3 separate regions of the Homo sapiens genome follow, and all the other regions are linked to region 2. The links are contacts of gene promoters, found by promoter capture Hi-C in human tissues and cell types (Jung and others, 2019). All regions are on one chromosome and are shown on one strand. Each heading gives the region's core, a stretch centred on a gene start or on the middle of the fragment in contact. The rest is flanking DNA. Distances are from core to core; before and after follow the strand shown. Region 1 overlaps TMOD3 (tropomodulin 3). Region 2 holds the start of SCG3 (secretogranin III). Region 3 has its middle 5.2 kb from the start of TMOD3.

Evidence for each region. Contacts are between HindIII fragments. The study calls those that stand out against the background at their distance.
Region 1: a contact is called between a fragment that was not itself captured here and the fragment with the promoter of SCG3 in region 2, in 1 of the 25 tissues and cell types used here (liver).
Region 3: a fragment that was not itself captured here is called in contact with the fragment with the promoter of SCG3 in region 2 in 4 of the 25 tissues and cell types used here (H1 embryonic stem cells, dorsolateral prefrontal cortex, mesenchymal stem cells and 1 more).

The regions. Positions count from the first base shown.
Region 1 is chr15:51,896,821-51,899,998 of GRCh38, reverse strand. All of the region lies in intron 7 of TMOD3 (tropomodulin 3), which reads right to left. Among named protein-coding and RNA genes, the nearest start is that of TMOD3, 69 kb to the right of the region's middle. The HindIII fragment of the contact is 5,912 bases long and covers 1-3,178 here.
Region 2 is chr15:51,679,879-51,683,536 of GRCh38, reverse strand. It overlaps SCG3 (secretogranin III), which reads right to left and starts at 2,034. Exons shown (of 12, transcript NM_013243.4): 1 at 1,700-2,034; 2 at 968-1,020; 3 at 413-458; 4 at 103-318. The coding sequence starts at 1,781. The HindIII fragment of the contact is 9,018 bases long and covers 323-3,658 here.
Region 3 is chr15:51,822,754-51,826,195 of GRCh38, reverse strand. No RefSeq gene overlaps it. Among named protein-coding and RNA genes, the nearest start is that of TMOD3, 5.2 kb to the left of the region's middle. The HindIII fragment of the contact is 5,527 bases long and covers 1-3,442 here.

The sequences.
Region 1 (3,178 bases), core at 634-3,133, 220 kb before region 2:
GTCCCTCAGTATTTGTTGGGGGTTGGTTCCAGGACCATCTGCAGATACCAAAATCTTCAGATGCTCAAGTGCCTTATAGAAAATGGCATAGTATTTGCATATAACCTTCACACATGCTCCTGTATACTTTTCATTACCTCTAGGTTACTTAATATACCTAATACAATGCCTACACATCACTTCATTTTTGTGGATTCAACATAGTACCTGGCATACAGCAAATTCAGATTTTGCTTTTGGAAATTCATAGAATTTTTTTCCAAATATTTTTGATCTGAAGTTGGTTGAACCCATGGATGACTGTATCTACTTTTCTTTCTTTTTTTTTTTTTTGAGACAGGGTCTTGCCCTGTCACCCAGGCTGGAGTGCAGTGGCAGGATCACAGCTCACTGCAACCTCTGCCTCCTGGGCTCAATTGATCTTCCCACCTCAGCTTCCTGAGTAGCTGAGACTACAGTTGTGTGCCACCATGCCCGGCTAATTTTTGTATTTTTTGTAGAGATGGGGTTTCACCATGTTGCCCAGGCTGGTCTCAAACTCCTGGGCTCAAGCAATCCACCCACCTCGGCTTCCCCAAGTGCTGGGATTACAGGTGTGAGCCACTACACCTGGCCTGTACCTATTTTTCATATGTACCCAGTCATAATCTTTTGATTTTTTGGTCACATGTAATTCCCCGTTGGTGACATTCTCTACTCCTCATTCCCTACTTCATGCTTCTTTCTTCTGTCTCTCTCACTCTTTCAGTTTCTGTGTTAGACCAACTTCATCAATGTCGCTGTAACATCTTTTCTTATTTGGGTCTTGCTGTAGCTGGATCATGTGAAGCCAAAATGAGGGTAAATTATGTACTAATTTCCAAGGCAGGGGCCAAAAGAAATGGTCAAGGCAGAAGGCCAGAAAAGAACACAGATAACCAGAACCAGAAGAGCACAAAGGCCATTGAGAAGAAGGGGCTAATAAAATATTAAATTCCTCAAGTAATGGTATGTCTTCAATCTGCTTCTATTTCATTTCTCATAGGATACAGTACAGTGTTAGACATTTGACTCAGTGCTTAATAAGTACCATATTGATTAATTAACAGAAGCCTACAAGTGAAAAAAGAAAGAGGAGGGAGACTGGGAAGGAAAGAAAAAGAGACAGAGGTAGGAAGAGAGAAGAAGGGAAGGAAGGAGGGGAAGGAAAGAGAGAGAAAAAAGAACAATGATCATGAGTTTATATAAAACAGCCCCTTAGAGGGATCAAAAGCAAGGTTAAACTACAGAAAATATGGGTAAGACCAAGCTTAAAGTTAAAGGAAAGGCAATAGGGCGTAGAGATACTAAAAAAACTGTGGCTGGTATCTACATACTTGTCCTTTCTATTAGCAACAACTAGCTATGTGACCTGGAACAAATCCCTTATCCATACATGTATTCGAATATTACTGATGGTCTATTATTTGATTAGCACTGTCCTAGAGATTCAGAGATAAAACACATTGGTCCCTGCCTGGCAGAATGTTCATTCTAGCTGGGGAGGGACACAGATAATAAAAGTAAGCAAAGTGCAATGTTAGAGGGTAAAAAGAAAAAAGGCACAATAGGGTAGATGGGGAATACTGGGGGTGGGAATGGGGTTGGTATTTTATATAGCACGGTCAGGAAAAGCCTCAACTAGAAGGTGACATTTGAGCAAAGAGTCAAAGTGATAAGACAAAGCTAAGTGGATTATTTTAGGAAGAAAGTTCAAGGCAGAAGGAACAAATGTACAGGCCCTGATTTGGGAGTCCACATGGCATGCTGAAGAAGGCTGTATGGCTAGAGTAGAATGAAAGAAAGGGCAAGTAAATGAGATGAAGTCCACTCATGTGAAGCCTTATAAGGCCACTGAAAGATTTTTATTTTTACTCTTAATGAGATGGGAAGCTGCTAGAGGGTTATCCGAATAGGAATGAGGTCATTTAACTTAAGTTTTAAAAGAATCACTCTTGGTGCTATGTAAAGAACTGACTTTGGGGTAGGTAAAATAGATGAAGGTAACCCAATTAGGAGGCTGTTGCAATAATCCAGGTGGGAAAAGATGGTGGCTTGGGTCAAGGTGGTAGTTGTGAAAATGGTGAGAAGTGGTTGGATTCTGAAATATTTTGAAGATAGGGCCAAAGGTAGGTTTAAGTTGCAAGAAAGGGATGTCGAGAATGATTCCATTAGTTTTTTGTTTTTTTTTTTTTTTTTGCTGGGCGTGGTGGCTCACGCCTGTAATCCTAGCACTTTGGGAGGTTGAGGTGGGCGGATCACAAGGTCAGGAGCTCGAGACCAGCCTGGCCAATATGGTGAAACCACATCTCTACTATAAATACAAAAATTAGCCAGGCGTGGTGGCGCATGCCTGTAATCCCAGCTACTCAGGAGGCTGAGGCAGGAGAATCGCTTGAACCCGGGAGGCGGAGGTTGCAGTGAGCCGAGATTGCGCCACTGCACTCTAGCCGGGGCAACAGAGTGAGACGCTGTCTCAAAAAAAAAAAAAAAAAAAATTTTTTTTTTTTGTTTGCCTGAGCAATGAAAGATTGAAATTGCATTTAGTAAGATAGAAAACAGCAGAGAAAAGCAGGCACAGGATGGAAGTCAGGAGTTTGAGGACTTACATGTAAGATGTCCATTAGACATCCAAGTAAAGCTGCTGAGGAGGTAGCTGGACATGAATACGGAGTTCAGGAGAGAGATACAAACTGTAGATAATAACACTGGGAGTCATCAGCAAGTATATGAAGATAATATATATATTTCTGAGATTACCCAGAAAGTCAGTGTAGACTGAGAAAAGAAGGACCACGTTCTGGGCCATTCCAATATTTAGAAGTTGAAGAGATATGGAGAAACCAGTACAGGGCTTTGAGAAGGAATGTCCACTGAGGTAAGGGGAGCCCCCAAGGGAGTGAGTGATATTCTCAAAGCCAATGAAACAAAAGGTTTATACCATGATCAAGTGGGATTTATCTCAGGAATGAAAGGCTGGTTCAACATATAAAAGTCAATCAATACACCACATTGACAGAATAAAGGACAAAAACCATATGAACATCTCAAGAGACACAGCAAAAGCATTTAACAAAAATCCACCACTAAGGATCCATAAATGGAATCCTCTGAAGATGTTAAAATAATGTGGTAGATCCCTATGTATTGATACAACAAA
Region 2 (3,658 bases), core at 785-3,284:
AGGATTATGAATGTTTAAAAGATATTTTTAAAATATTGGACTTTCTCTTAACCCATTATAGGAAACTCCACGTTAACAAAAAGTTCTTTTTTTCTCATTTACCTTGAAATTTATGATCCAATCCACTCTTAGTAGAGTCATAATCATCGATCAGTTTTCGATTCTTGGTTGAATCAACATCTTCCACATTCAACTTATTATCAAGTGGGGAGCTTCTTATAGATTGTCTTTCTTTCTCAATTTTTTCCTTTTCTGTTATTGCCTTTAGCAGGTTCAAGTTATCAACAAAAGAATAGTTGCTCTGACCTGGCTTGTTTTCTGGAAGAATAGCCCCAAACCCAACACAGCCATTTTAGTTCAGATTCTCATAGCCTACATTATTTAAATTAACATCAATATGATTTCTTTTTACCTGGAGGATATGTTTTTTTAATCTTGTCTTCTTCTGCTTCAGCAATCTGTGAAGCAAACAGGAGATAGACTTGGTTTAAAATCATTGCTCCACTACTTACCAAGTACAAGAGCCAAATGATTTAATCTCCATGGGATTTAATTGTCTTGTTTGTAAAATGTGGATAATTCCTATTTCAGAGCACTGTTATAATAATTAAATGAGATAAAATTAAGGGTAGATGCTCAGTCAGTGTTAATTTCTTTCTCCTATAATATTGTTGAAAGAGAAATCTCTGGTAAATTAGGCAATCTTACAACAGAGTGGATGTGATGCTGAGCTTACTGGGTTATTATATAGTTACTCTATGTATTCATTATACAGAACTCAATGTAAATAACTGCTAGGGCATAGAATTTACCAAAACTAGATTTCCCGTCCTAATTTCTGTCAATTAACTATTAAGTTCCTGATGTTTGTAAATTCAAAATGACCAAAATGTCACAGCATAATTACATTAAATAATAATAACTAAATCAAAATGAAATAGCATTCATAATGTTACTTTTGACCTACCTGTTCATTCAAAGGTCTTTCTGCACTTAATTCTCTATTATGTAGAGATTTGTCTAGAATAAACACATGTGAATATAAATTTAATTGTGCGTTGAAGGACAAAATATGCCTCTTATTAAATAAAATTTTTATAAAAAGGAAAAATATTAGGAGAAATAATTTTGGATGACTATGAAACAAATGCATATTAACAAAGATTATCAAGATTATACAATAATAGTAATTATCAATATTGCCTTGTTTATTATCTTGGTGTATTTCTTGAGCTGACAGAATCACACTTTTTTTTTTTTCTGACCAGAAATTTAACATATAGTTCTAACACTAGGGTTATCAGCTATTCTCAGCTAGAGAGAGCATAATTTGGATTGGTATTATTGGCACACTAAAAGCTCTTTCATCATATACTGCATATATAATGAATAGACTGTCTGAGAAAGGTTGTAAGGCAACTAGAAAACAATCCAAGCCACTTTAGGTGAAAAAGGTTCCCTTCCCTTTTCAAAATAAGATCTTTAAAAACAACCCATATTATTGCTCTATCATTTTAAAAGTGAAGAAAAAAAATCTGTCTTCTGTCTCTAAATTCGAACTGATTTCTCTGTCCGTATTCATGGATATGATTTGATCAGAAAACGCGTCAGGGTGATTTACAGCTCACGTATTATGCCAAACTTTACCTTTTCGTGGCGAAATAAAAGGAAGGTAGGAAGAAGAAAAGTGTTCACATACCTTGGCTTCCTCCAGGTTTGGGGAAAGCTTGAATCGGGAGCACTAACACCAGAATCCAAGTGCCGGTCCCGAGGAACCCCATTCTTCCACGCTCGGCTTGGGTCACAGCCCGGCGCTGGGCTCCTGGAGCTGTAGCTTTTGTTATGAATGAAAAGGAGGAGTAAAAACAGGAAGAGCCAGGAGGGTGGGTGTGGGGCGGGAGAGGGGCCGGGACTGGGCGGCTGCAGGATCTCTGACACTCGACGGTCAAGGGATAAGCAGGGTTGGGGCGCGCGGGAGTCAAGTCTCCAGGTAGAGGGGAGCGCTGTCCGCCCTGTGGGTGCTGAAGTTCCTGTGACGCGGAGACTGCGCGCCAGGGCGTAGCTTTACTCTCGCTCCCTCCTGCAGAGGAAGTGAGGAAGGAAGCGCATGCTCCATGCACGCCAGAGGCGGGAGGGGATGGCGTCGGTGACTCCAACGCTACTCCAATCCCCCGGGAATGGAACAAAGGAGGGGCGACCGGCCAGCTGGTGTATTTTCTGTGCTGCAGTCCTAGGGTGCTCCTGGGCTCAGGGTCAGCTGGCTTGTCCTAAGCGTGACAGAATTGTCCCAACCTCTCAAGTAAATGTTACTTCAAGGGCCAAATGCCTTCTCTGCCTGTGCACCTGTCAAGGAGATTTAGATAACCTTGTGCGAGGAGTTCTGCTTCGGGATTCTTCTTTTGGGATATCTGCTCCAGAATCCCTTCCTTCCATTCACCTCCTGTACCCAAAAGGTAGATATAATTATAATCTCTTTAGAAAAGCCCTGCCTTTTGTGGTCTGTGTTGACGTATCAAGCATCCCTCAGCTCTACCGAGGCTTTTGAATTGGGAAATTCAAGGAACAGTCTTCCAAATAGTCAGATTGCTGCAATACACTCTCACTCTCTGATGCTGAAACACAACAACAACAGAAACAGTCCTGAGTAGACGAGCAGCAATGGCAAATTCTCCTTTCCCCACCAAGTGGAACCTCCCCCACTTTACACACACACACCACACAACTAAATTAGAAAAAAGAAGCTGCATTTCTGTAAAATCTTGCCCAGAATTTAATTATGCCCAAAGACCTGGCTGTTCCAGGGGGTCCTTCAAGAGAGGGGATAGTCATGAAAAGCATTTTTCATCTTTACTAAGTCAGGGAGGTGCTTCCTATGTTCTGAGAATATTCCCAGAAGCCTAAGGTTATTGTATACAAGGAACTATCAAAAGACTTTAAATGATGAAAACAAGCAACATTAATGTGAGCAGGATGCTGAGTAAGCTCTTTAGTCTCTGATTTTTAAACAGAACTTGGACCTTTTCCTCTGGACTGCGGCATGCTGGGAACCAGTCTGAATAATGACCAAAGAGAAGGATTCAGCACAATCAGGCCTTTGATTTCTGCACCCTCCTTTTCAAGGAGGAAGTTATTCAAGTACCTAAAAACAAACAAACAACCAAGCTGACAAACAAATCTCCCTTGCTCCGGAGGTTTTTGAGTTTGGAAGTCACTCAAATACTTCCTTTGAGGATCTAAAGAGTATTCTAAATCTAACAGCTCCTTCAAAACAAAAAACTCTTTATTGGCAGTAATAACATAGCATTATTATCCCAGTATACTGCATTAAAAAATTAAGTCATATTTTAAAATCCCAGCTGAATGAAGGGTATATTTCCTTAGTTTCCTTTTCTTTATGATGGAAATGACAGGCTCTGTTTACCTCACACTGTTATTATGAAGATCAAATGGGTACATGTTTTGAACTAGTCATTTTGATACCAAGAATATTTTGATACAGCCTAAGAAAATAAGTCATGAAACGTTTTCAGCTTTTATGAAACATTACCCAACGCTATCTGAAATAGCCATTCACTGATCCTGAGACTCACTGACCTAATCCCTCAGCTTCACTTTGTCCTTTGTCCCATTCCTGACTCATTTATCTCCTCAATACATG
Region 3 (3,442 bases), core at 878-3,377, 140 kb before region 2:
GCAAGAGGGTTGACTACACAGGAGAATAAGATCCTGTGAAAGTCCTGAAATAGAGACAGAGCTCTCTTTTAAAAAGGCTATAATTTAGGGTTGCCACTATTCCCTTAGAGTTGGAAACATAATTCTTGGAGGAAAACAAACAGGAAAAACATGGAAATTAGATTTACATAAATAAGTGAAAAGGTAAGTCCACTAAATACCTGTGGTAGATTGAAATATTGTTCCCACATATTTGCTCTCCTTTAGAGGAATAGACAGGCTTGCCCACTACTATGTGACTTCCAGTGCTGCCCCGCAGGCATTCCAGGCTTGGCTATGATCCCATGATGGGATTTTCCTCCTCTCTTCGGTTAAATGTCATATTGTAATCACAAAGTTTAGAAACATGAATCTTGCTTTGGTCAATAAAATATAAGTGGAAGGGACAATCCGACAGTTCTGGGTGGAAGCTTTAAGAGTCACTGCCTTTCTCTACTAGTGTGCCTGCTCTTTCCCTCCACCAAGAGAGACAAGTTCTGAATAGAGGCTGGTCCTTCTGCCTGGGTTCTAGAATAAGAAATTACATGGATCAGAGCCTCAGCCACTAGCTGACATAATATATAATGTGAGCGAAGGGGAAACTGAGGTTTAGGTTCGTTTGTTACTATAGACTTACTTAGCAAAAGCTGACTACTATAGTGCCTAATCAAAGAAACATGATGATCTGAACTAGAAGTGGTATGGCACCCCCAACCGTCTGCATTTAACCCACTTCAAGTAATGGAAAACTGTTGAAGTTCAACAGGCTAACACACTACAGAGAACAAATCTGAGGCCTTCAGGTAAAATATTTGAACAAGGGACAGAGTATGGTTCCCATTAGTGTTCAGGGTTTGGTTAGAGTGAAAGTGATTGATAAAATGACACTTCAACTCTACTTTATGTGTTAATATTACAAGCTCTAATTAGTGTTATCTCTAAACTTCCAGCCAGAATAACTCAGAAAGCATGTCACACTGAATCATCGTATGCTAATTAATAACAGCAGCACTTTTCTTGTTATCAAAGAGTTCCTTTAGGAAATAGTTACTTTGGTATATGTAAGCATATTTTGTGTGTATGTAAAAACGTGTATTTATAGGAGAGCTGAGAAAAACTAAAGACAAAAATTTGAAATGAAAAGGGAAGGATTTCATTATGGAAGCTTGGAGGTAGGAATCCTATGGAAGCAGTGGGAGGTAGCAATCACAGAAGACAAACATCATGGCTGGGTACATACCGGTTTTTTTTTTTTTTTTTTTTTTGAGATGGAGTCTCTCTCTGTCACCCAGGCTGGAGTGCAGTGGCGTGATCTTGGCTCACTGCAAGCTCCACCTCCCGGGTTCACACCATTCTCCTGCCTCAGCCTCCCAAGTAGCTGGGATTCCAGGTGTGCACAACCATGCCTGGCTAATTTTTGTATTTTTAGTAGAGACGGGGTTTCACCATGTTGGCCAGGCTGGTCTCAAACTCGTGACCTCAGGTGATCTGCCTTCCTTGACCTCCCAAAGTGCTGGGATTACAGGCATGAGCCACCACGCCTGTGTGCATACAGTTTTACAGGAAAGATTCAAGCACACTTTTTGGCCTCAAGTGCCCCTTTTTCTATAACCCATCTCTGCCTGTTAGAAGCCTCCTCATGTTTCATTGTCCATCTCAAATGTCTGTTCCCCACTCAACCTTCACTAATGCCATCAGCTGGAATTAATTTTGCCTTTCCCATATTTTCATACCCCATTATGCCTCCATTAGAAGTGCACTGAATACACATTTCAGCCAAATGCCAAAAGGGCCAAAAAATAAGTCACTCTTCAGCTGAAGCCAAAGTTGATGACAAACATCACTATTAAAGAATAAACTTCTGGGATATGCACATAAACCTAAAATATTATCCCCAAATTTTAATACTATTTTAATAATATTAAAAATGTTAGTGCTAAAACTGTTCAGTTTAACATTTACTATAGAAGCAATAAATTCCCAGTGCTGTCCATTGTTAGACTCTCCTACAGTCACTGCAGAAAGCCAAATTTCAGCTCAGGTGAGTGAATGAATATGATCCCTGTCATAAATGGAATTAAATAAGAATTAAATTCAGGTCTTTAAATGATAAATGCTAGATGCCCCAAACCCTTCTACCAAGACCAGAGTTGTGATATGATTTAACTTCTGCTTACTTTTCCTTGTCTTTATTTATTTTTATTTATTATTATTATTTGTTTTTGAGACAGAGTCTCACTCTGTCGCCCAGGCTGGAGTGCAATGGCACGATCTTGGCTCACTGCAACCTCCACCTCCTGGGTTCAAGCGATTCTCCTGCCTCAGCCTCCTGAGTAGCTGGGACTACAGACGTGCACCACCACACCTGACTTATTTTTGTATTTTTAGTAGAGACAGGGTTTTGCCATGTTGGCCAGGCTGATCTTAAACTCCTGACCTCAAGTGATCCTCCAACCTCGGCCTCCCAAAGTGCTGGGATTACAGGTGTGAGCCACCGCGCCTGGCCTCCTTGTATTATTTGAATTTTTTATAAACATTTATTGGCTTGAAAACAATGTATTGTTTTTTCTAGGTTATCTAGCCAATGGATTCCTTCTTGATATTTGTAGTGATTGTCAGCTTATTTTCCTATTTGCTTAAAAGTCTTAAATAATTGTTTCTTTTTGTCTTTTACTAAATTCTTATTGATACATTATAATTGTACATATGCATGGGAGTACATGTGATATTTTGCTACATGATACAATGTGTAATAATCAAACCAGGGTAATTGGTCATCATCTCAAACATTGATTATTTCTTTGTGTTGAGAACATTTCAAATCTTCCAGCTATTTTGAAATATGCAATACATTATTGACAACTACAGTCACCCTACTGTGCTGTTGAACCACTAAAACTTATTCCAAGTGTATTTTTGTACCCATTAACTAAACTGTCTTCATTTTTATCCTCCTTAAGTTTTTAATTTGTTTGTTTGTTTGTTTGTTTTTAGATGAAATCTCGCTCTGTTGCCCAGGCTGGAGTGCAGTGGTGCGACCTTGGCTCACTGCAACCTCTGCCTCCCGGGTTCAAGTGATTCTCCTGCCTCAGCCTCCCGAGTAGCTGGGACTTCAGGCGTGCACCACCACACCCAGCTAATTTTTTTGTATTTTTAGTAGACACAGGGTTTCACCATGTTGGTCAGGCTGATCTCAAACTACTGACTTCAAGTGACCCACCCACCATGACCTCCCAAAGTGCTAGGATTACATGTTTGAGCCATCGCACCCAACCAGTTCTTTAGAGAAGTTTTACAAGTGTTTACCCTTCAAAAAGCTTAAGGTTCTATAAAAATGTTATGAACCTTTCCTAAATTCCTGGCTTTTAAAGTGATGCATCCATAAGTGAGCCTAAGTACATAAAAGAAACTTGTGGTATCAGGA